7 separate regions of the Homo sapiens genome follow, and all the other regions are linked to region 2. Evidence: promoter capture Hi-C in 16 types of primary human blood cells and fetal thymus (Javierre and others, 2016). All regions are on one chromosome and are shown on one strand. Each heading gives the region's core, a stretch centred on a gene start or on the middle of the fragment in contact. The rest is flanking DNA. Distances are from core to core; before and after follow the strand shown. Region 1 has its middle 3.4 kb from the start of KRT24. Region 2 holds the start of KRTAP4-5 (keratin associated protein 4-5). Region 3 holds the start of KRT13 (keratin 13). Region 4 has its middle 10 kb from the start of KRT14. Region 5 has its middle 4.8 kb from the start of KRT32. Region 6 has its middle 1.7 kb from the start of LINC00974. Region 7 has its middle 9.2 kb from the start of KRT17.

Region 1 (3,636 bases), core at 3-2,502, 440 kb before region 2:
AGTCTTAAAAAACAGGTGCTTCCAGAAATAGTTTGTATCCTCCTTAGCTTTAAACTTAAGTAGCTGACTTTTGTTTATTTAAGAATTTCTTCCTTCTTTTGCCAGTCTCTGTTAAACTATGTTCACACCTTAATCTTTATATTCAATTATTTGTTAAACAATGTTCTGCTTTAAATTTTTCCTTAAATTGCATTTTATTGGGACACATGATTAAATAGGTAATCATTCACTTTACTATGTAGCTCTTATGTGGCTTTTATGATCTACCTGTACTGTTTTCACAGGAGTATGATGTTACTCTTCTTCATATTTAGGGTGACATATCTCCAAGGGGTACATGGTGTACAAAATTTTAAATTGTTAAGCTGGGAGTAATTTTTATAACGCCCTTCTAAAGTAGCTAAAAAATGCACCACACATAATGTGTTGGTCATCCTGCCTCGCCCATCCCTAAAGCTGTGAAACCAAAGAAAACTAAACCCTAATGATTAAATGGTATGCAAATGCTGGCAATGGGAGGAACAGTCACAGAGTGTTTCTCCCTTTTAAAACTATGAAATGTAATCTTTCAATTTTCATAAAGACTTGCATTTGGCTGAAAGCACGTTTAAATCCCAGCTCCTTCGGAGGCTGAAGCAGGAGAATTGCTTGAACCCGGTGGGTGGAGCTTACAGTGAGCAGAGATTGTGCCACTGCACTCCAGCCTGGGCGACAGTGCGAGACTCCATCTCAAAAAAAAAAAAAAAAAAAAGACAGAGAGAGAGAGACAGACTGAATCTTAGGTGTCTGGGCTCCCAGTTCAAATTTTGAATAGTTTGTGATTAGAAGTTTATTTCTACCTGTAAAGAAACATATAAAAGCTATATTTCCTTATAGAATATGATTTTAATAATAAGTGCAGAATGATTTGCAGATAGTAACCATCAATTTTTTTTTGTGTGTGTGGGGGATAGATTATTAGTATTTAAATATTTTTCAGATTAACATATTGCAGGTTTTTAGACTAGTAGGAAAACCAAATACTGAAATGCATGGCATATGGCTCCTGATGAATCTTTACAGAATTGAGAACAGAACTTGGGTATTCTATCTTCTGTTCATTCAAGAAAATATACTGTTTTGTGTTTTTCAAATAGAAGCATCACATCAGAGTAGTTAAGGGAAGTTGCTGGGTTTAGAGTATTTGTTGAATGTTGACAAAACTTTCTGTGGCAGACAGTAAAAAAGAAGGGAAAATATACATTTAAAAAAATTTTAACTTTTAACTTTTGTGGGTGCATAGTAGGTATATAGATTTATGGGGTACATAAGATATTTTGATATAGGTGTACATATCCCATCAGGGTAAATGGGGTACCCATCACCTCCAGCACTTATCCTTTGTGTTACAAACATTCCAATTATACTATTTTTTAGTTATTATAAATTATACAAGTAAATTATTATTGACTATAGTCACTCTGTTATACTATGAAACACTAGGTCTTATTCATTTTTCTAACTATTTTTGGTACCCATCAAGCGTCCTCACTTTTCCCCTACTCCCCCGTTTCCCTTCCCAGCCTCTGATAACCATCATTCTACTCTCTATCTTCATGAGTTCAATTGTTTGAATTTTTAGCTCCCACAAGTAAGTGAGAATACACAAAGTTTGTCTTTTTGTGCTTGGCGTATTTCACTTAACATAATGACCTCCAGTTTCATCCACGTTGTTGCAAATGACAAGATCTCATTCTTTTCATGACTGAATAGTACTCCGTTGTGTATATGTGCCACTTTTTTTTTTTTTTAAGACAGGTTTCACTCTCGTCACCCAGACTTGAGTGCAATGGCGCGATCTCGGCTCACTGCAACCTCCACCTCCTGTGTTCAAGCGATTCTCCTGCCTCAGCCTCCCGAGTAGCTGGGATTACAGGCACCCACCACCATGACCAGCTAATTTTCATATTTTCAGTAGAGACAGGGTTTCACCATGTTGGCCAGGCTGATCTTGAACTCCTGACCTCGTGATCCGCCCTCCTTGGCTTCCCAAAGTGCTGGGATTACAGGCATGAGCCACCGCGCCTGACCTGTGCCACTTTTTCTTTATCCATTCTACTGTTGATGGATGCTTAGGTTGCTTCTAAATCTTGTCAGTAGTGCTGTAATAAACATGGGAGCACAGACATCTCTTTAATATAGCAATTTTCTTTCTTTTGGACACATTGGAAAGTATAAATTTGATGTGTGAACAGTCTCTTTGCAATGCCGTTGCAATGACAGATAGTAGATAGACAATAAATATTCCTTGAATTAATAAAAACTAACATGGCCTGATTTTCTTCATGAACAACTTGGATCACTGATTACTTTTGTTCTTTACTATGTGTTGTGTTTTGTTTTCTGAATCTTTATGCTCCACTTCTGGGTTAGTGATTCTCAGTGTGTGGTGGCGGAGAGCGGGGCTTGGCAGTAAGAGGAAATGTTGTTTGGGAAGAGGGCAGAAAGGTCAGGCAAGAGTCAACCGGGGACCTTCCTGTAGGGAATCATTGTTTGGGCCAGCTTCCTGCTGGTGGCTGCTCTAGGCCCCGCCAGGGTCAACTACTTGGAAGAGAAAAAAGGTTTTGCAATAATAACATGACTAAGAGCCCACTCCAGTAGATCTGGCACCACCCGTCGATGGATTGGGTGTGTCATTGTCACACCCCAGAAATCCACCAATTCTGTGGCTGTTTCTCTTCCTTCATCACTTTCTCTCCTTCCCCACCACCCTCGTCCATTCTTTCTCTTCCTGGTTTCACTTAAGTGTGTCTATTTGAAGGCTTCCTCTTCTCCACCAGGAAGCATCTGCTTGGTCATGCCATTTTGCCAAATTTTGTTCTGGGAAGAAAAATCACCTGGCTTTGTTCTTGTATGTGAGTGCTTTCAAATCTCTTTAAATAACTCAATTCTCTATGTTTCCTGAAGATCTTTCCGTGAGTTTATGGAGAATTAAGAGAATGGGTGAGTGACTTTGCGGGGGTTGGGATGCTTTGTCCTCCAGGCTCCACAGATAAGACAGTTTGAAATAAGCACAGTTTTCAAGGATTAGCTCTGCTTAAAAAGTCCTTTTGTGCCTTTCTTCATACCAGACAGACAGTAGTCTTCTCTTCAGAGAATCCAAAAGCATGAACAATCCAGATCATAACTTGAGCAGTAGGGCCTAGCCCCTGTGCCTCTTGCCAATGCTAAGTTGATACACTGGGCCTTCCTGCTCTGTCTCTTCCAGCTTGACCCCTCAACCTCCTGCTGCCCTCTGATGTCAGAGAAGCTGCAAATCTTTGGTCAAGGAATCCAGGGCTTAAATAGTAGTTTCATAGCAAAAGAATGGCATGGTATTTTACACAAGATCATATTTTATATGATAGGCTCAGAAGAAAGCTTCATCAGTCTCAAGTCTCTTGTCCTCTGTCCACCAGAACTATAACACAACATTTGAGTACAGTCGATGTCTCTTGACCAAGCCACCATGTCCTCATCTGTAAAATTATTATATTGGTCTATCCACTTCTCAGGTTCCCTTCCAGCTCTAATTTTTAGCAATCTGGTAATTAAATGTATTACTTCTCAGATTTAGAAAGTGTTTTATATTACTATTAGGTGAGATTTTCTTTTTTT
Region 2 (3,131 bases), core at 64-2,563:
TTCCACCCACTCAGCCTCCCAAAGTGCTGGGATTGCAAATGTGAGCCACCACGCTCGGCCAGAAACTGTATCCATTAAGAGCCTATACTGCATTATGTACCAGGCCCTGTGGTGAGTATATTACATGGGTTATGTCTCTTAACATTTAAAGAATGTAATGCATTATCTCTATTCACAGAGAAAGAAAACTGAGGCCTGAGGAGGTTAAAAAACTTGCCCCATGCCACGCAACAAATACCTAGGGGAGTCGTGATTCCAATGCAGGGAACATGAATCAAGAGCCCAGGCTCTTAAACATGCTCTCCTGCATTTGAAGAGAGATGGCCCTTGATGTGAACTGACAGGTAAAGACACACACACACACACACACACACGCACAATGAGATCACTAACAAATCAGAAGATTTCAATATTAGGGAAGTGGCTGTTTATTAATACATGAAAACAATATTATATGAGATCATCACAGTTAGTGTCCCCTTCGAATGAAGACACTGCTCATCTAAAAATAACTGCATTGGGGCCTGGCATAACATATTTTAATGAATGTGATTGTCTGTCATTTCCTAGAAGAGCTGAATGTCCACTCTGAATGCCACATGAGACAAACTGGCAGGGAAGTGTTCATTTTTCCAGTGACTGGCTGGCTACAGTGCATTTTAAATGACTAATGAAGACATTCATAGTATGACAAATATCACAAGGAGACATTAGCAGCAAGAGGAGGCACAGCACAAGGGGCGGGGGCAGGTGGAGATGACACAGGTTGGGCGATAGCAAGTGGTGTGGCAGGAGACTCGGCCACAGACTGGACGCACGCAGCAGCAGGGGCGGCAGCAGCTGGATTCACAGCAAGAGGGGTGGCAGCAGCTGGAGATGCAGCAGCTGGGACGGCAGCAAGTGGGCTGGCAGCACACAGACTGGCAGCACTGGGGTCTGCAGCAGCTGGACACACAGCAGCTGGGGCAGCAGCAGGTGGTCCTGCAGCAGGTGGTCCTGCAGCAGGTGGTCTGGCAGCAGCAGGGGCGGCAGCAGCTGGATTCACAGCAATAGGGGCGGCAGCAGCTGGAGATGCAGCAGCTAGGGTGGCAGCAGGTGGGCTGGTAGCACACAGACTGGCAGCACTGGGGCTTGCAGCAGCTGGGGCGGCAGCAGGTGGTCCTGCAGCAGGTGGTCTGGCAGCAGCTGGGGCGGCAGCAGTTCTCCAGGCCACAGCTCTGCTCAGAGCTGACAGAGCCACAACAGGAGCTGACCATGGTGTCAGAGGGTGGAGGTTCTGGGTGGATTTCTAGAAGAATGAGGTTCTCAAGTTTGGAAGTGTCCTTGGGCCACAGCCTCTTATATACTGCCCAGCTGTCTTGTTGGTACTACATTTTCCTTGTTTTTGTTTACTTAATAACTAAGTGATTATCAGATTACACAATAATGTTTGCCCATTTAATGGTTTAAACTTGTTGAAAACAAAATTTTCTTGTCCGGATGTAATAAGATCTATCATGTCTGCCTTCTCTCATGATTCACACCTCGGTAGCATCTTCTAGACCACGTTCTCTTCCTCTTCCTCCACAGAGGGCTGTTCATGTGATTCCCTGCATTTGGAATTGCATTTCTTACTCTCGCTTCAGGTACCCTCTACCAAAATGGGATTTGGTCAGTCACACTTCCAGTTATGCATTCCCTCTAGTGACCAATAGCGAGGAAAACCCATCTGCTCAGTGTGGCATTCCTAGTCTGTGGGTCATTATTAAGCAATAAGCAAAGGGATAGCAATACCTGCATGTGGCCTTGGTGACCTCTACACTATTGAAATGGGTTTCCCTGAATGTTTCAAATTTTGGGTCATATTCCATATCCTTAAATTTTTATACTTGGTGTTACTAATGGGTCAGTTTCTTAAATTGATACTTTGCTCTCCTATATTTTGTGTCATGTCTCTCCAGTTAATCTATTAGATTCCGGAAGACATAGTCCCATTTTTATTCCATAACTCATTGTTTTTTTTAAATGCCTCTAACTGTCTGTTAACATAATGCAGGTGTGTGTTTTCACTTTTTAAAAAAGAAATTTGAGATAATTGTAGATTTACATACAGCTGTAACAAACAGTCCCAGGAGAGGCTGTCTGTACTTCACCCAGGCTCCCTAACACTGTGTAACACCTGTATAATACTTTTAAGAATCTATCTACCCCCACTACTGTGTCTTGCATGATGTGCTTAATATAGAAAGAACTCAAGCTCAGTGAAATTAAAAACAATTAGTTATTTTTCAGATTGACGTATAATATTGTATTTACCACATACAACATAATATTTTGAAGTATATATACATTGTGGAAGGATTAAATCTAGCTAATAAATGCATTACCTCTCATACCTATCATTTTTTTGTGGTGAGAACGCTTAATATCCATTCTTAGAATTTTTCAAGAATACAGTATGTACAATATATCATCATTAACTATAGTCACTATGCTATACAGTAGACCTCTTGAACTGATTCTTCCTGTCTAGCTACAATTATATGTCTTTTGACCAGTATCTCCTCAAGCCCCTGACTCCCTAGCCACCCCTAGCCTCTGATTATCTTCATTCTCTGCTCTACTTCTATGATATCAACTTTTTTGAGTGCGATCATGTGAGTGAGATCATGTGCTATCTGTCTTTCTATGACTGATTTACTTCACTTAGCATAATTTCCTTGAGATGTATCCATGTTGTCACAAATGACAGAACTTCCGTCTTTTTACGGCCAAATAGTATTGCACTGAGTATATACTGCATTTTCTTTATCCCCTTACTCATTGGTGGACACTTGCACTGTGTGCATATCTTGGCAATTGTGAATAGTGCTGCAATAAATCTGGACATGCAGTTATTTCTTCAACATACTAAGTTCATTTCCTGTAGATATATAAGGTACCCAGAAGTGGATTGCTGGATAATACGGTAATTCCAGTTTTAATTTTTTGAGGAACCCTTATATTGTTTTCCATAATGGCTGAACTAATTTATATTCCCACCAACAGTGTACGAGGGAGTTTTTTTCACATCCTTGCCAATACTTGTCATCTTTTGTCTTTTTGATGATAACCATTCTAACAGGAATAAGGTGATATCTCAATGTGGTTTC
Region 3 (3,418 bases), core at 883-3,382, 350 kb after region 2:
GTGGTCGCCACCGGGCAGGAGGCTGCAGGCATACCATGCTCAGCTGGGACTGCAGCTCAATCTCCAGGCCTTGGAGCGTGCGCCTGAGCTCCGTGATCTCTGTCTTGCTGGTCTGAATCATGGCAGTGTTGGTAGACACCTCCTTGTTCAGCTCTGCACTCTGAAATGCAAGCAGGAAGAAGGTGGTGGGGAAGCTCAGCTCGAGCAGCCTGACCAAGAGGCTGTGTCCGCCCGGCCCCCCTGGCTATATGGGATGGGCTATGTGGGGTGGGAGGGCCGGGTACCTTGGTGTGGAACCATTCCTCAGCATCCCGGCGGTTCCTCTCTGCCATGGCCTCGTACTGCTCCCTCATCTCTGCCAGCACGCGGGTCAGGTCAATGCCTGGGGTGGCATCCATCTCCACGTTGACCTGGCCGACCACCTGGTTGCTAAATTCCTTCATCTCCTGTGGGGATGGGAAAGGAAGATGTGTGAGGCTACTCATCCTCCCTCTCCTTGGCTCTGAGTGCTGGCAGAGTGTTCTGGAGAGTGTTTCCAGGTCCCACAGTGGAGGACTGTGTCCAGTTGCAGGGGAGGGCTCCTCCTTCTCACTGGAGGTTGTTGAGCCCAGGGCAGCCTGCAATTCCCGCTCACCTCTTCATGGTTCTTCTTCATGTAGGCTAGCTCTTCATTCAGGCTCTCGATCTGCATCTCCAGGTCAGTCTTAGACAGAGTGAGCTCATCCAGCACCCGGCGCAGGCCGTTGATGTCGGCCTCCACGCTCTGGCGCAGGGCCAGCTCATTCTCATACCTAAAATAGTAAAAAAATGAAATGTTTTTTGAAAAAGCAAGACATAAATGATATGAGACATTCTCCCTACCCCTGCACGAGACTCCAGTACTTCCAGACCTTCACTCCTGGGATGCTCCAGTGTCATTGGTCAGATGAGCTTTTGTCTAAACTAAGAGACTCCTGGGAAAGGAGAGGGAGGGGGAAAAAAAAAACTCACTTGAGCCTGAAGTCGTCCGCAGCCAGCCTGGCATTGTCAATCTCCAGGATGACCCGGTTGTTTTCAATGGTGGCGGTCAGGATCTACAAAATGCAGAAGAAGGTAACCTCTAGGGCATGGGTGTCCAGTCTGTTGGCTTCCCTGGGCCACATTGGAAGAAGAATTGTCTTGGGCAACACATCAAATACGCTAACACTAACGATAGCTGATGGGCTAAAAAGAAATTGGCAAAAATAAAAAATAAAAAAAAACTCAATGTTTTAAGAAAGCTTACAAATTTGTGTTAGGCCTCAATCAAAGCTGTCCTGGGCCACATGCAGCCCACCGGCCACAGGTTAGACAAGCTTGCTCTGGGGGGTCCACGTGCTTGAGGAGGTGGCCTGGGAAAACATGGGCAGGACCTGGTTCCCATGGGGCTCTACCTCTAAACTGTCCTGTGAGCTGGGACAAGGCATTTCCCTCTGGGCCTCCATTGCTCTTCTGTAAAGTGAGGAGTGGGGCTGCATCCCCTCCAATCGTTTCTAACACTTTAATATTCCATGTCTGAGCACCCTGGGGGAGATGCAGGGAGTGCATTTCTGAGGAACGACCTGCTGAGAACATCTTTGGTTCGTCATGTCTTGGCAGCCTCAGACTAGCACCCTCCCTAGGCCACTGTCTTGAGATCCATCCCCTGAAAGTCAGGAGGGACTCGGCTTGGTGCCACATATCTCACAATCACTTTGCTAGAGCTGACTTCCCAGCTGAGTGGAGGGGAAATCCAACAAATATTCCCATCCCTTTGAATTTCTTGTCTAAACGTTTATATTCCAAAGCAGTGAAAGCCTGCTCCACATGGCTGAGACTCAGCCCAGGCTGGTAGATTTCTGCTCCAACAGGCTGGTATCACAGCACAACAGACAGGGCTCAACAAAGGGCACCCAGGCTCGGCACTGCCTAAGCCTCTGCCTCTCTCTCCCCCAACTTGGCCATCGCCAGTTGAGAATACCAGTTTGAATGGGTCCCCTACAAAGTAAACAATTATTCCCAGGGCAATGAATGAACACGTCTCTCTTTCTCTGTTGATTTCATGCATTCTTAATGGCTTTTAAACCTGTCATGTTTCCAGATAACTCAGTAGGTTAGGATTATAGAGATCGAGTCATGAATAACATAACTGTCTGGAAAGCAGTAAAAAAACTGACCTGAGTAATAACAATCATAAAAATGAATAATGAGAGAAAATGCATTTGGGGAGTTGTGGCATGAGAAAGCCCATCAGAGGTAGAGACTCTTGGTAGTCAAACAGTAGGCTTTTCCCCTGCAAGAAGTTTGTGAATTCCGTCCACACCTAGTCCCCCACAACACTGTGTTTCTTGGCCTTGGAGGCTCTGCCCTTCATGGAGGACCCCTCCTCAGCTTCCAAGGGCTCACCTTGTCCCGGAGCTCTTCAATGGTCTTGTAGTAGGGGCTGTAGTCCCGCTCAGGGCTAGCTGGGCTCTGCTTCAGGTGCCAGTCACGGATCTTCACCTCCAGGTCAGCGTTGGCCTCCTCCAGGGCGCGCACCTTCTCCAGGTAGGAAGCCAGGCGGTCGTTGAGGTTCTGCATGGTGATCTTCTCATTGCCAGTGAGGAGGCCGCCATCACAAGCACCAAAGTCAACAAAGCCACCAGCAAAACCCCCACCAAAGCCACCTCCAAGGCCACCTCCATAGCCACCTCCAAGGCCACCTCCATAGCCACCTCCAAAGCCACTACCAGCCCCTCCACCAAAACCACAGCTCACGCCGCCTCCATAGCCCCCAGCTGATCCCCCGGACACAAACCGAGTTGAACAGGTAGAGACACCACGGCCTCCTCCCAGCTGGCAAGAGCCACCCCCGAAACCACCTCCATAGCTGGCAGAGGAGCTCTGCAGGCGGAGGCTCATGGTGAGAGCAGGATTGAGAGCAGGTGCAGATAGAAGCTTGCTTGGCCTGGGCCGAGGACTGTGGCTCTTCCCCAGAGTGGACACCTTTTATACACCTCCATAGGGGCTGGTTATCTTCTCTCCTCCCTTCCCCACCCTCTGACTTGGTGCCAACTACACTTCTGTTTCCCACAAGCTTAGTTATCTCTGATCTCTCCAGGGTGGGTTGTGCCTTTTGGGGGTGGCTTTTTTTTTAATCCTTAACAAAAAGAATGATTCAGAGGGGACAGCATTCTGCCTGAGACTGCCCTTTTGACAAGTGAATTCTGTTTCACCTCCACTTAAGGAGTTCACTGTGCAGGCTCTGAGCCCCACCCAGTATTAGAACGGGACCTGAGATGCGGAGGCCTGCCAGGAGCTTCTGCGAGGAAAGTGGTGGGTGCAGAGTGGCTCTGTGCTTTGCAAGGTCACCGTAGCCCTCGACCTTCCTTTTTTCTATACCTAAAACTTCTGACTGGGATGTCCTGGATCCTTCTTAGCA
Region 4 (3,273 bases), core at 378-2,877, 450 kb after region 2:
CCTAAGCTGGTGAGTGATGCTGTCGGATGTTTCACAAAGGCCACCCTGGTCTCCATGCAGAACATACTTTGCCGTGGTGTGGGGGACCAGTAGGGAGAATTTGCCATATCCAGGTAAGGGATGTTGTTGGCTCAGACCTCTCCTCTCCCAGGAAGCCCCACCCCATCAGCTCAGGTCACCTGGCTTTCTCCCCATCTCTCAGACCTCCCACTGCCTCTGTGATCTGTGCCCCCACCCTTGATTATACCTCCCCATAGTGCCTTAGGGGGCCACAAAGTGTTTTTCACATAGTCAGTCCTCAGTGTTACTCTGGTCTGATGCAGGAGACACAACCCTTGCCCGTGGGCTGTCCAGTCTGATGGAGGAGGGTTGCAGAGCCCAGAGTTTTCCCTGTGCCATAGGCTGAGGGGAGCCAGGAGCACAGGAGCCACAAGGTGGGGTGGATTAGCACACAGAAGTTTTCTTGGAAAGGGTGCGCTTTGACTCAGGTTTTGAAAGAAGGAAGAACCCTGGAGGGTGGAGTGGGGAGAGGGCGTGGCTGTGGGAACTCCAGCACAGTGGTGAGTTGCGGGGAGAGTCAGCACCTGGGAGTCGGAATGTCTGTGTCAGGAGTCCTGAGCTCTGGTCGGCAGGACAGAGGGAAAGGGAAAGAGGAAGGGAAGGGGTCGCCGAGTAGTTCTAGCCTCATGGATAGAAAGAGTCATTTCCCACAGTCAGAGATGTGGGAACAGATTCAGCATCTTGCACCCCACCTCCCTCCCCCAGACGGGATACCGCATGGGATCAAGGAAGGAGCAGGGCCTCCCGATCAGAAAGACCAGCTTTCAAGTCTTGGCTCCATCACTGACGAGCCATGTGACCTTGGACAGGCCATTGCAGCCGTCCAAGCTTTGGTTTTCCATCAAATAGGAATAGAACCAGTTCAGCCTGGCAGGATTATTGAGAGGAGTGGGTAAGTCAGCGCAGGTGGCCAGCATGGTACTGGGCACAGAGGAAGTGTTTGGTAAAAGTTCACTTAAATTAAGCCCAAGTTAGACCAAAGGGAGTGGGGGATGCAAATGGAGAACAGGTGTCAAGGTTCAGCCAAAGACCTTGAGGCAGAGAACAGAGAAGAGTCCAGGATGTTACTGGAGCTCCTGTTGCAGGAGCTGGGAGCTGCTGAGGTCAGCCGGCCAGGTGATGGGCTGGTGAGTCTGCAAGGGCCTGGCCAGGGTGGAGGCTGTGGGAATAGGGCAGGCCTGGAAACTGATGAGGAAGAGTCAGCGGATGGTTTAGGTGTGAGGGGAGAAGGCCTGGGAGCTTCCAGCAGGGCCCACATTCTGTGGCTGGAATGAGGGGATGGGGAAGCAGCCTCTCAGGTTTCAATGAGGCCATCCTGGTTGTCAGTGCAATATTTGCAAAAAAATGACCATTTCTGTCTCCCAGTTCCAAAAGAGGGCATGGATGGCTTATGATAAAAGACATATTTATAATAAAACTAAAAATATCCAGCAAGGATAGAAGAAAAATAAATCAAGAATTAGGTAACAGGATATATTGATGGGCACATTTTGGTTGCAAGCAACGGAAACTCAGCTTGAATTAGCTTCTAAAAGAGGCAATTCAGGGCTGGGCATGGTGGCTCACACCTGTAATTCCAGCGCTTTGGGAGGCTGAGATAGGAGGATCACTTGAGCCCAGGAGTTCAAGACAAGCCTGGGCAACATAGTGAGATACCATCTCTACAAAAATAAATAAATAAAATAATTAGCCAGGCATGGAGGCATACACCAGTAGTCCCAGCAACTCAGAAGACTGAGGTGGAAGGATTGCTTAAGCCCCAGCAGGTCAAGGCTGCAGTGAGCCATGACCACAGCACTGCACTCCAGCCTGGGTGGCAAAGTGAGACTCCATCTTAAAAAAAAAAAAAAAAAGACAATCAATAAAACAATAAATCAAGCCCCAATTTATAACATTTATTTTTTTCGTGTTGTAAATACCCCCACTGTGGCCAATTTCAAGCAACCAACAGGGAGTCACTTAACACAGGGTTGGGAAGAGACGTGCAGTAGCTCACTGCCTTATAGCATGTCCACCATATGGATAAAATGGTCATAAGTACCTCAAGAGCACAGATATTAGTACAATGTAGTAAAATAATTTGGAAGGAATGAGTTTTCAGTATGCATTACCTTTGTTCTCAATATAATTCATTTAATTTTAAGTTCGTATAATTTAATTTTTGATGAGGGCCATATTTAACAATCACCTTGCAAAATTCCTGAAATTTTAATGTCCAGCTCTCAAGAGCCAGCATGAGCCAGCTCCAGCGTGCCAATGAGCCTCGAGGTTTAGGCCATAAGCAAGAGACTAGGAGGGACAAAGGGAAAGCTTCTGGATAAAACAAAGTGAAAGAGGGAAAACCAGATTGGGGGAGGATATTGGTGAGGGAAGGGGAAGAAGAGTTGGTGGGCCCCCACGGTCAGGGAGACAGCCTAGGTGGACAGGAGCAGAGGCAGCATCCAGAGGCTGTGCAGCCTTCACAAGGCAGACCAGGCACTGTCTGCCTCCCAGGGAGCCACATGGGAGCCCCATGGGGGTATCCAAGTCTGTGCTGCCTCGTTATCTCAATTATCTCATCAGTGTTCTGTTGGTTGTTCTCTCTGTCAGCATCTAGCGAGGACTGTTCTACTGCAGCACTCAGTGTGCATCTGTCCTTTGACTGTCCCAGCTTGAGTGATGTCTGTGTGTCCCAAGACTTTGGTTACTCCCCATCTAACTTAACCCATATGAGCAACACCCCCTTCAAAGAACTGGAGGAGTGATTGGGGGAAAGGAAATGATGGTGCTGGGGGTGTTGGAGGTACTGGAGGTAGTGGTGGTGGTGGTGGTGGTGGTGGTGATGGAGATGGAGATGGTGGTAATGATGGTGGTGATTGTGGTGGTCATGGTGGTGATGGTGGTAGTGGTAATGGTGGTGATGATGTGGTGGTGGTAGTGGGGGTGGGGGTGGTGATGGTGGTAATGATGGCAGTGATTATGGTGGTGATGGCAGTGATGGTGGTAGTGGTGATGGTGGTGGTGATGGTGGTGGTGGTGGTAGTGGTGGTGGGGGTGGTGATTTCAGTGGTGGTGGTGGTGGTGGTAGTGGTGGTGGGGGTGGTGATTTCAGTGGTGGTGGTGGTGGTGGTGCAGGGGCGAGTGGTGATGGTGGGGGTGATGGTGGTGGGGCGTATTGGTGTGGTGCTGGTGATTGTGGTGGTGATGGTAGGGATGGTGGTAGTGGTGATGGTA
Region 5 (3,432 bases), core at 256-2,755, 320 kb after region 2:
GCTAGATGACGAGTTAGTGGGTGCAGCACACCAGCATGGCACATGTATACATATGTAACTAACCTGCACATTGTGCACATGTACCCTAAAACTTAAAGTATAATAACAATAAAGAAAGAAAGAAGGCATAGATGTTGCAGTTTTTAAATATTTGCTATTTAATGTTGTTTTATTTAAACAATGTAGATACACTGCTTTGATAAAAATAAAAATAAAATGTAAAAAAAAAAGAAATGCAGTTTTTCAGGCTCATCCCAGACTGGCTGAATCAGAAACTCTGAGGCTGGGGCTGGGATGCAGCAGCCTGTGTTTAGCATGTCCTTCAGGTGGTTTGGAGACCCACTGAGATAGAGGAAGATACAGGCATACCTCAGAGATAGTGCATGTTCAGTTCTAGACCACCACAATAAAGCAAATGTAACCATAAAGTGAGTCACACAAACTTTTTGGTTTTTCTGTGTATGTAAACATTATATTTACACTATACTATAGTCTATTAAGTGTACCATAGCATTATGGCCTAAAAACAATGTATATAACTTAATTTTAAAAATGCTTTATTGCTAAAAATGCTAAGGATCATCTGAGCCTTCAGCAAGTTATAATCTTTTTGCTGGTGGAAGGTCTTGCCTCAATGTTGATGGCTGAGGACTGATCAGGGTGATGATTGCTGCAAGTTAGTGTGGCTGTGGCAATTTCTGAAAATGAGACATCAGTGAAGTTTGCCGCATCAGTTGACTCTTCCTTTCATGAAAGATTTCCCTGTAGCATGTGATGCTGTTTGATAGCATTTTAACAGTAGAAATTCTTTCAAAACTAGGGTCAGTCCTCTCAAACCCTGCCACTGCCTTATTAACTAAATTGATGTAGTATTCCAAATCCTTTGTTGCCATTTCAGTGATGTTCACAGCATCTTCACCAGGAGTAGTTTCCATCTCAAGAAACCACTTTCTTTGTTCATGAATAAGAAGCAGTTCCTCATCCGTTCGTTTTGCCATAACATGGCAACAATTCAGTCACATCTTCAGGCTCCAATTCTAATTTTAATTCTCTTGCTGTTTCCAACACATCTATAGTTACTTCCTCTGCTGAAGTCTTAAGCCCCTCAACATCATACATGAGAGTTGGAATCAACTTCTTCCAAACTCCTGTTAATGTTGATATTTTGACCTCCTCTCTTGAATCACAAATATTGACATATAGAATAGTGAATCCTCTTCAGAAGGTTTTCAATTTACTTTGCCCAGATCCATCAGAGGAATCACTCTGTATGGCAGCTATAGCCTTATGAAATATATTTCTTAGGTAATAAGACTTGAAAGTCAAAATTAGTTTTTGATCCATGGGCTGTGGAATGGATGTTGTGTTGGCAAACACAAAAACATTAATCTCCTTGGACAGCTCCATCAGGGCTCTTGGGTGATCAGATGCATTGTCAATGAGCAGAAATATTTTGAAAGAAACCTTTTATTCTAAGCAGTAGGTCTCAACAGTGGGCTTAAAATATTCAGTAAACCATGTTATAAACAGATGCACTGTCGTCCAGGCTTTGTCGTTCCGTTTGTAGTGCACAGGCAGAAAAGATTTAGCATCATTCTTAAGTGCCCTAGGATATTCAGAATGGTAAATGAGCATTGACTTCCCACTTGAAGTCATCAGCTGCATTAGCTCCTAGCAAGAGAGTCAGCCCATCCTTTGAAGGTTTTGAAGGCAGACTCCTCCTGTCTAGCTATGAAAGATGCCGCCTCCCTAAACTTCATCATTTCTAGCTTTTTATTTAAAGGGAGAAACCTGCAACTTTTCCTTTCACTTGAACTCTTAGAAGCCACGGTAGGGTTATTAATTGGCCTAATTTCAATATTGCTGTGTCTCAGAAAATAGGTAGACCCAAAATAGGGAGAGAGATGGGGGAATGGCCAGTTGGTGGAGCCATCAGAACGCACGCAACGTTTATCAGTTAGGTTCCCCATCTTATCTGGGCATGGTTTGGTGCATCCCAGAACAATTACAACAGTAATATCAAAGATTACTGACCACAGATCACCATAACACATACAATAATGAAAAAGTTTGGCCAGCCGCAGTGGCTCACACCTGTAATCCCAGCACTTTGGGAGGCTGAGGTGGGCAGATCACTTGAGGTCAAGAGTTCGAGACCAGCCTGGCCAACATGACGAAACCCCATCTCTACTGAAATTACAAAAATTAGCCAGGCGTGGTGTGCCTGTAATCCCAGCTACTTGGGAGGCTGAGGCACGAGAATTGCTTGAACCCAGGAGGCAGAGGTTGCAGTGAGCCGAGATCACGCCACTGCACTCCAGCCTGGGCAGACAGCCAGATTCTGTCTCAAAAAAAAAGAAAAAGAAAAAATTTGTATTGTGAGAATTACCAAAATGTGACACAGAGACACATAAGCACATGCTGTTGGAAAAATTAGCACCAACAGACTTGCTCTAGGCAGGATTGGCACAAAACTTTAATTTGTAAAAAAAAAAAAAAAAAAAGAAAGAAAAAAGAAAAAAAAACGATATCTGGGAAGTATAATAAATTGAAACTCAATAAATCGAAGTGTGCCTGCATATATTTTAACAGCTGTCACCAGAATTCATCTTGCAGGAAAAAAAATGTCTTTACTTGGGAAACTACATTAAGAAGATCTTGGGTTAAAAGGTGGGACCCTAATGCCTTGATTTGGCTGGTAAGACATCAGAGGGTGAAAGGAGAGAAGGATTTGAAGTTCACAGGACAATCCTGGAAGGAAGGAATGAGGAGGAGAGAGACAGGAACCAGGAGCAGGGGCTCCAGGATGATGCTGAGAGGCTGTCGCTGTGAGGTGCAGTCCCAAATGCCAGCGTGAGCAGAGTTTTCCGTTGTGAAGGAAAGACCAGGTTTCATATAAAAGCAGATTGAGGCCAGGTGCAGTGGCTCACACCTATAATCCCAGCACTTTGGGATGCCCAGGCGGGCAGATCACGAGGTCAGGAGATCAAGACCATCCTGGCTAACACGGTGAAACCCCGTCTCTACTAAAAATGCAAAAAAATTAGCTGGGCTTGGTGGCGAGCACCTGTAGTCCCAGCTACTTGGGAGGCTGAGGCAGGAGAATGGCGTGAACCCGGGAGGAAGAGCTTGCAGTGAGCCGAGATTGCGCCAGTGTACTCCAGCCTGGGCCACAGAGCGAGACTCCGTCTCAAAAAAAAAAAAAGAGCGGATTGATAAAGGTAGTAGCAGCAGCATCCAAAGTCACAGAAGACCACAGTTCCAGGCAATATGCCAGATCTGGGGTATGTCGTGAAGATGGAGAAGTAGGGTCTAGGAAAGGTAGCCACAGAGAAAGTGGGGCACTGTCAGTTCTCAGGCCCAGGTCTGGCTGATCCAAAGACTTTCCACTGTACCCCAACCTCTCTGGGGCCAGAGCAAACTATCAGGAAA
Region 6 (3,147 bases), core at 274-2,773, 410 kb after region 2:
CTCCTCCCTGCACCGTTTGCTCATTCACCCATTCCTTCCTTTGACAAGCACAGACCCAGGGCCTTCTAGGGGGAATCTGAGATCCCAGGAAAGAATCTACCTGTGCCAGGTCACTCGTCTTATTCTCAGCTCTTCATACAGTCATTGCTTCCCACGTAAGCCTTTTTTCTTTCCTTTTTTTTTCTTTTCTTTTTCTTTTTTTTTTTTTAATTTAGAGACAGTCTCATTCTGTTGCCCTGGCTGGAGTACAGTGGTATGATCATGGTTCACAGCAGCCTCAAACTTCTGGGCTCAAGTGATCCTCCCACCTCAGCCTCCCAAGTAACCCAGTAATTAGGACAACAGGTGCATGCCACCATGCCTGTCCAATATTTTTTTCTTTTTTTGGTAGATGCGGGGTCTTGCTCTGTTGCCCAGGCTGATCTCAAATTTCTGGCTTCAAGTGATCCTCCTACCTCAGCCTCTCAAAGTGCTGGGAATACAGACATGAGCCGCCACACCCAGCCCACATAAGGTATTTTTGACAAGCCTCTGCTTATGGGATTTGCTAGCCTCTGTATTCTTTTGGGGCTCAATAATTGCTCAAGGCCATAGAGAACAGGAAACAGAGCACCAGCTTTGGAGCCAGGCCAAACTGGAATTATATCTTTGCTTGATCATTTACAAGCTATGTGACCTTGGACAAGTTACTTAACCTCTCTAACTTAGAATTTCCTCATCTATAAAATGGGCTTCATAATCCCAGTGTCCTTGGATCAGACTTCCTAGATTCAGTTCCTGTCTCCACTGCTTAGGAGCTGTGTGACCTTTTCAGCAAGTCATTTAATCTCGCTAAAAATGTTTCCTCATGTGTAAAATGAAAACAAGGACAGCATCATGAGATTGCTGTGAAGATTAGATACAGGGTTTATTCCCTTATCTTATATAAAATGCTTAGCGAAGTGCCTGGAACATTATTAAGTGCGCAATCAGTGTTAGTCCTTGCTCCTTCCTTGTGGACAATTGTTCTTACACTTAGTCGCCCAGCTCCTTTGTAAAGGAATTCTCCCTCTAGTGTCTGTGCCTCCTGGCTATAGAAGCCAGAAATTAGCCTTCCAGCCTCCCTTGCAGCTGGAGCACAGACACATGATCAGTCACACACATCACAGAAGCCTGTAAGCTGGGAGCTAATGTCCTAAAAAAGGAGGCACCTGGTGGAATCCATGCTGGAAGGAATAACTGCAGACCTCCAGTTTCTAGAAGCAGCAGCGCCACAAGTTTGGTGATAGCGCCAAGTGGAATGGGCTACTGAATCTGCACCTGCAGATAGTGGCAAGGGTGGGCTTGCTCCGGGCTGTGCTGCCTTCAAACCTGTTCCCTGCGAGTTCTTCCTGGAGAGTCTATGGCTTACCTAACATCCTTTAACAAACTGGCTTCAGAGTGTGGCTTCTGATCTTTGCAGGCAAAAACCCTGATGGCTACAGAATTTAGTAACAAGTGTGATTACTGGCATGAGACTTCTAAAAGATCTCCGTTTGGGTGTCCAAAAGACAATGTAAATTTAGCATGTCTGAAACTGACTCCCCATCTTTCATACCAGCCAACTTCCATCCCACAACTCCTATCATCCAGTTGCTCAGACAAAAGACTCAGAGACCTCCTTGACTTCTTTCTTTTACAATATGCAGTCCTTCAAGAACTCCTGGCAGTGCTTTCTTCAGATGATGCTCAGAATCCAGCCACCTCTGACCGTCTTCACTCTGAGTGCCAGGGGCTCTTCACCTCCCTGCACACTGGGCTCTCTGTTTCTGCTCCTAGCCTCGCAGCCTCTCATCAAGTGGCCTGTCACTCCTCTGCTCAAGGCACTGTGTGTTAGGATGATCATCAGCACTAGCTGCTGTGCCTGGAGTGGTCCCCACACACGCTTGACTGCCTCCCTCACTCCGTCAAGTTGATACAGAAGGGCTGGGCTCCTGGCTAAACCCTACCCTTAAGCCTGGAACCTCGGCCCTAAAGGACCCCATTTTCCCCAAAAATGTTACCTTTTTGGCCTGCCTGCCCACATGCTGTGCCCATAAAAGACTTCAGCTGGCAGAGCAACACAAGCGGCTGAGCACTGAGGATATAAGCAGCTGAGCGGCGAGCAGAAAAGCAACTGAGCATCGGAGACTGTGGATAGATCTGGCTAACTTCAGATGGTGCAGCTTTGGAGAGGGGCCCTGCCGGAGACGGTGGGGCTTCAGGGAAAGATCACCATCCCATCACCTTTCCATCCTCCCTTTCCACTGAGAGCCACCCAACACCCAGTAAAGTATTTTGCATTCGTCACCTTTCAAACAGTTTATGTGACCTGATTCTTCTTCCTGGACGCCAGACAAGAACCTGGGTGCCAAGAAGGCAGGGGCTGCCACCCTGAACCTCCATTGAACTGGTTGGTATTTGGCCATCCCCTGACAGCACAGCTGAAAGAATAGGGACGCTGCTGCAGGGCCCGAACAGAGCCTGCTCCTGCCAGAGAGGAGCAACCGGCTGGTTCCAGCGTTCATTTGCTCCGGTTCCCACACTTGCTCACACACTCACTCCCACAAGGAGTGGCCAGCAACAGGCTGAGTGAAACAAAGTGCTCCTTAGCTGGGCGTGATGGTGTGTGCCTGTAATCCCAACATAAGAAACCCCATCTCTACTAAAAATACAAAATTAGACGGGCTTGGTGGCCCGTGCCTGTAATCCCAGCGACTCGGGAGGCTGAGGCAGGAGAATCACTTGAACCCGGGAGACGGAGGTTGCAGTGACCTGAAATCTCACCACTGCACTCCAGCCTGGGCAACAGGGCGAGACTCAGTCTCAAAAAAAAACAAAACAAAAACAAAAAACAAAGTGCTCCAGTTCCCGCCCATGAAGGGCGTCAGGGCAACTATTCCATCGCAAAGTCATTGCTTATGTTTTACCTTCTCAGTGAACCCAACCTTGGCCATCCTATTTAACATTGCTCTCCTCCCCACCCTGCCATAGCACTCCAATCTCCCTTGATATTCCCTACTTCTTTGCGCACTTACCACCTTCAAGTATAGTATTATTTATTTCTTTATTACATTTGTTGCTCTTGCCCAACCCTTACCTATAATGCAAGCTCTATAGAGGCAGAAATCTTTGTCTCTTTTGTTCATT
Region 7 (3,229 bases), core at 540-3,039, 480 kb after region 2:
CCAGAACCAACCCCAATATCTGATCTGGCACTGCCAGTATTTCTGCTTCCAAGGGGAGATTGCAGGAATTCCCGCCTAGTGGAGGTCCCGGGCAGGAGCAGACAAAGCCCCTCGTAGGCAGCACCAGGCCTGGCTCTCCACCCAGGAAACTGAGCAGGCCTAACCACCAGGGCCAGCTGGGCCTAACCTGACTCCCGCCTGCCTCCCCTGGCTCCCCTGGCCCCCCTGGCCACCATACTCATCACTTGCACTCCTCACCTGCCACTGGTGGCTTTGCTCTGTAGGACCCTCCAGGGCAGGGTTTGTGCAGAAGACAAAGTGGCCATGTTTACAGAATGCCAAAGCCATGTTCTTAGAGGTCATGAGAGAGAGTGTGTGTGTATGTGTGTGTGTGTGTGGTGTGTGATGTGTGTGTGGTGTGTGGTGTGTGATGTGTGTGGTGTTTATGTGTATGTAGTATGTGTGTATGTGGTGTGTGTGGTGTGTGGTATGCATGTGGTGTGGTGTATATGTGTGTGTGGTGTGTATGTGTGTGTGAGATCTGTGTGTATTGTGTGTGTGGTGTGTATATGCGTGTGGTGTGTGTGGTGTGTGGTACATGGGTGGTTGTGGGTATATATGTGTATGGTGTGTGTGTAGTGTGTATGTGTGTGGTGCGTGTGGAATATGTGTGGCATGTGTGGTGTGGGGTGTGTGTGTGGTGTCTGTGTGTATGTGTATGTGTGTGTGGTGTGTGTGGTGAGTGTGTGTGTGATGTATCTATGGTGTGTATGGTGAGTATGTGTGTGGTGTGTGTGGTGTTTGTGTATGTGTGTGATGTGTTTGGAGTGTGTGTGTGGTGTTTGCGTGTGTCTGTGATGTATATGTGGTGTGTGCGTGATGTGTGTGTGGCGTGTATGTGTGTATGTGTATGGTCTGTGTGGTGTTTGTGTGTGTATATGTGTGTGATGTGTGTGTGCTGTGTGTCTCTGATGTGTGTGGTGTGTGTGTGGTGTGTGTGCGTGTACGTGCGCGTGTATGTGTGGTGTGTGTGGTGTGTATGTGTGTGATGTTTGTGTAGTGTGTGATGTGTATGAGTGTGTGTGTGGTGTGTGGTATGTTTGGGTGGGTGTGTATATGTGTTGGAGAGGGTGTGGGGGGTTTGGGGGGGTGTGTGACTAATATGTGTGGAGGGGGTGTTGGGGGTGTGGTGGGTATATGTGTAGGTGTGTGGTATGTGTGTGTGTATGTAGTATGTGTGTATGTGGATGTGCCTGTGAGCTATGTGTGAATGTGTATATAGGAGTCTTTTAGTGTGTGTGTATCGATCGGTGGGCATGCGCCTGTGTGTGAATCTGGGAGTGTGAGGTGTGAGTGGGGCGCGTGGCGTTTGGGGTAGTGTGTGATGTGTATGGTGTGTGGTGTTTGTGTGTGTGTACGTGTGTGCTGTGTGTGGTGTGTGTGTGGTGTTTCTGTGTGTGTATGTGTGTGATGTGTGTGGGGTGTGTGTGGTGTTTGTGTGTGTACGTGTGTGGTGTGTGTGTGGTGTTTGTGTGTATGTGTGTGATGGTGTGTGTGGTGTGTGTGGTGTTTGTGTGTGTGTATGTGTGTGTGTGGTTGTGTGTGGTGTTTGTGTGTATGTGTGTGCTGTGTGTGTGGTCAGTAAGGTTCTGCATGGTCTTTTCACCGCCCCCGCAGCAGGGCATCCGCCACGTCAACGCTGGAGCCAAAGCCCCCACCCAGGTTACAGGTGTAGCCACCGCTGTAGCCTCCCCCAAGTCCCACCAAGAAGCAGGAGGAGGTGACCGACATGTTGCCACAGCTGCTGACTCCCAGGAGGCTGGCGAAAGGCACCCCCAACACTGACAGATGACATCCAGGAGAAACCCCCGCCAGGTGTCCACAGGCCCTTGACAGAGCCAGAGGTGGAGAACTGGCAGATGCTGGTAGTGGTGACAACCAGGGTGTCCATGGGTCGGGTGAAGAGTCTGGTCTGGATGGAGACCCTGGGTAGCCCGTTACAGCCGGGCTGAAGTGGGGCTGGGACCCTGGCCCTTGAAGTTCAGGCCAAAACCCCAGGAGTGTATTTTGCCTCCTCCCACCCACCCAGGGCCTGGGGCTCAGGCTGGACATATTGAGAGCCTCCCCAAGGACCCCTCCATAGCAAGAGCCCAGCCTGAGCACCAGGGCCTCAGCGGTCTGTTCAGACACAAAGGTGGTGGCCAGGCACGGTGGCTCACGCCTGTAATCCCAGCACTTTGAGAGGCAGAGGCAGGTGAACCACCTGAGGTCAGGAGTTTGAGACCAGACTGGCCAACATAGCAAAACCCCATCTCTACTAAAAATACAAAAATTAGCTGGGCGTGGTGTCACGAACCTGTAATCCCAGCTACTCAGGAGGCTGAGGCAGGAGAATAGCTTGAACCTGGGAGGTGGAGGTTGCAGTGAGCCGAGATCACACCATTGCACTCCAGCCTGGGCAACAAGAGTAAAAATCTGTCTCAAAAAAGAAAGAAAGAAACAAAGGTGGTGCTGGTCTGTAGCCCTGGGGTAGGGTGACCCTCCATCCTCAGCCACAGTTAGGAGGCTGAGCTTATTCTTGTGGGGAGCCCGGAGAACCCAGCCCTGGGAGCCAGCACGGGCACAGGACAAGGCTGCACAGGCCAGGAGCCGGAGGCTGGCCTGGCCCCTCACCCAGCATTCCAGGGCCCTGGGGTAAGGGTGGAGAGATCGGGGCCTGACATCATTGCCCAGGTACAACGTGGCCCTGGTGGAGACTCCCAGTCAGAGGAGGCAGAATTAGCCTCTGACCTGTGGGAGCCCCACTCTCTTGGGATTCTTCCAAGTCCGCGGGGAGATACAGCCCACAGGTTCAAGGATCCCTGTGTCTGAGGGAAATAGACGTGGCCGCTGAACTGAGGGAGCTTTGGATCCAAGCCTTTCAGGAAGTCAGTTCTAGAGCCTCCGTTCCCTCGTTTGTAAAAGGGGGACCAAGTCTTGTCTCCCAAAGTCTTTGAGGGAATCTGGAGAGATAATGACGTCAGTAAGGCTCTAACAAAACAGGAAGCAGAGGTGGGGCTGGGAGCAGGGGTCTGAGGCCAAAGGGTTAGGGCAGCCTCCCTCCTCACCCGAACCTGAGCAATGTCAGTCCAGAGCAGTCCCGGAGGAGGGGAGGGCAGCCCAGGAAGGCCACAGAGGAGCAGGATCTGTGCAGGAGCCAGCGTCATGCCCCGAGGAACGGCCCCTGCAA

What was found. The method cuts DNA at HindIII sites, captures the fragments that hold promoters and counts their contacts. A CHiCAGO score of 5 or more calls a contact.
Region 1: a fragment that was not itself captured here is called in contact with the fragment with the promoter of KRTAP4-5 in region 2 in 1 of 17 cell types (erythroblasts); the score reaches 5.7 in erythroblasts.
Region 3: a fragment that was not itself captured here is called in contact with the fragment with the promoter of KRTAP4-5 in region 2 in 4 of 17 cell types (naive CD4 T cells, naive CD8 T cells, total CD4 T cells and 1 more); the score reaches 8.1 in naive CD4 T cells.
Region 4: a contact is called between a fragment that was not itself captured here and the fragment with the promoter of KRTAP4-5 in region 2, in 2 of 17 cell types (total CD4 T cells and naive CD4 T cells). The highest score is 7.3, in total CD4 T cells.
Region 5: a contact is called between a fragment that was not itself captured here and the fragment with the promoter of KRTAP4-5 in region 2, in 1 of 17 cell types (naive CD8 T cells). The highest score is 5.2, in naive CD8 T cells.
Region 6: a contact is called between a fragment that was not itself captured here and the fragment with the promoter of KRTAP4-5 in region 2, in 4 of 17 cell types (total CD4 T cells, activated CD4 T cells, naive CD4 T cells and 1 more). The highest score is 6.5, in total CD4 T cells.
Region 7: a contact is called between a fragment that was not itself captured here and the fragment with the promoter of KRTAP4-5 in region 2, in 1 of 17 cell types (naive CD4 T cells). The highest score is 6.0, in naive CD4 T cells.

The regions. Positions count from the first base shown.
Region 1 is chr17:40,705,333-40,708,968 of GRCh38, forward strand. No RefSeq gene overlaps it. Among named protein-coding and RNA genes, the nearest start is that of KRT24, 3.4 kb to the left of the region's middle. The HindIII fragment of the contact is 4,290 bases long and covers 1-3,397 here.
Region 2 is chr17:41,148,512-41,151,642 of GRCh38, forward strand. It overlaps KRTAP4-5 (keratin associated protein 4-5), which reads right to left and starts at 1,314. Exons shown (of 1, transcript NM_033188.4): 1 at 413-1,314. The coding sequence starts at 1,256. The coding sequence ends at 711. The HindIII fragment of the contact is 5,677 bases long and covers 1-3,131 here.
Region 3 is chr17:41,502,653-41,506,070 of GRCh38, forward strand. KRT13 (keratin 13) reads right to left here and starts at 2,960. Exons shown (of 8, transcript NM_153490.3): 1 at 2,404-2,960; 2 at 991-1,073; 3 at 635-791; 4 at 285-446; 5 at 35-160. The coding sequence starts at 2,898. The HindIII fragment of the contact is 1,600 bases long and covers 1,333-2,932 here.
Region 4 is chr17:41,595,252-41,598,524 of GRCh38, forward strand. No RefSeq gene overlaps it. Among named protein-coding and RNA genes, the nearest start is that of KRT14, 10 kb to the left of the region's middle. The HindIII fragment of the contact is 1,482 bases long and covers 887-2,368 here.
Region 5 is chr17:41,470,435-41,473,866 of GRCh38, forward strand. No RefSeq gene overlaps it. Among named protein-coding and RNA genes, the nearest start is that of KRT32, 4.8 kb to the left of the region's middle. The HindIII fragment of the contact is 4,488 bases long and covers 1-3,432 here.
Region 6 is chr17:41,554,639-41,557,785 of GRCh38, forward strand. No RefSeq gene overlaps it. Among named protein-coding and RNA genes, the nearest start is that of LINC00974, 1.7 kb to the left of the region's middle. The HindIII fragment of the contact is 4,431 bases long and covers 1-3,147 here.
Region 7 is chr17:41,632,180-41,635,408 of GRCh38, forward strand. It overlaps the pseudogene KRT42P. Among named protein-coding and RNA genes, the nearest start is that of KRT17, 9.2 kb to the left of the region's middle. The HindIII fragment of the contact is 4,882 bases long and covers 1-3,229 here.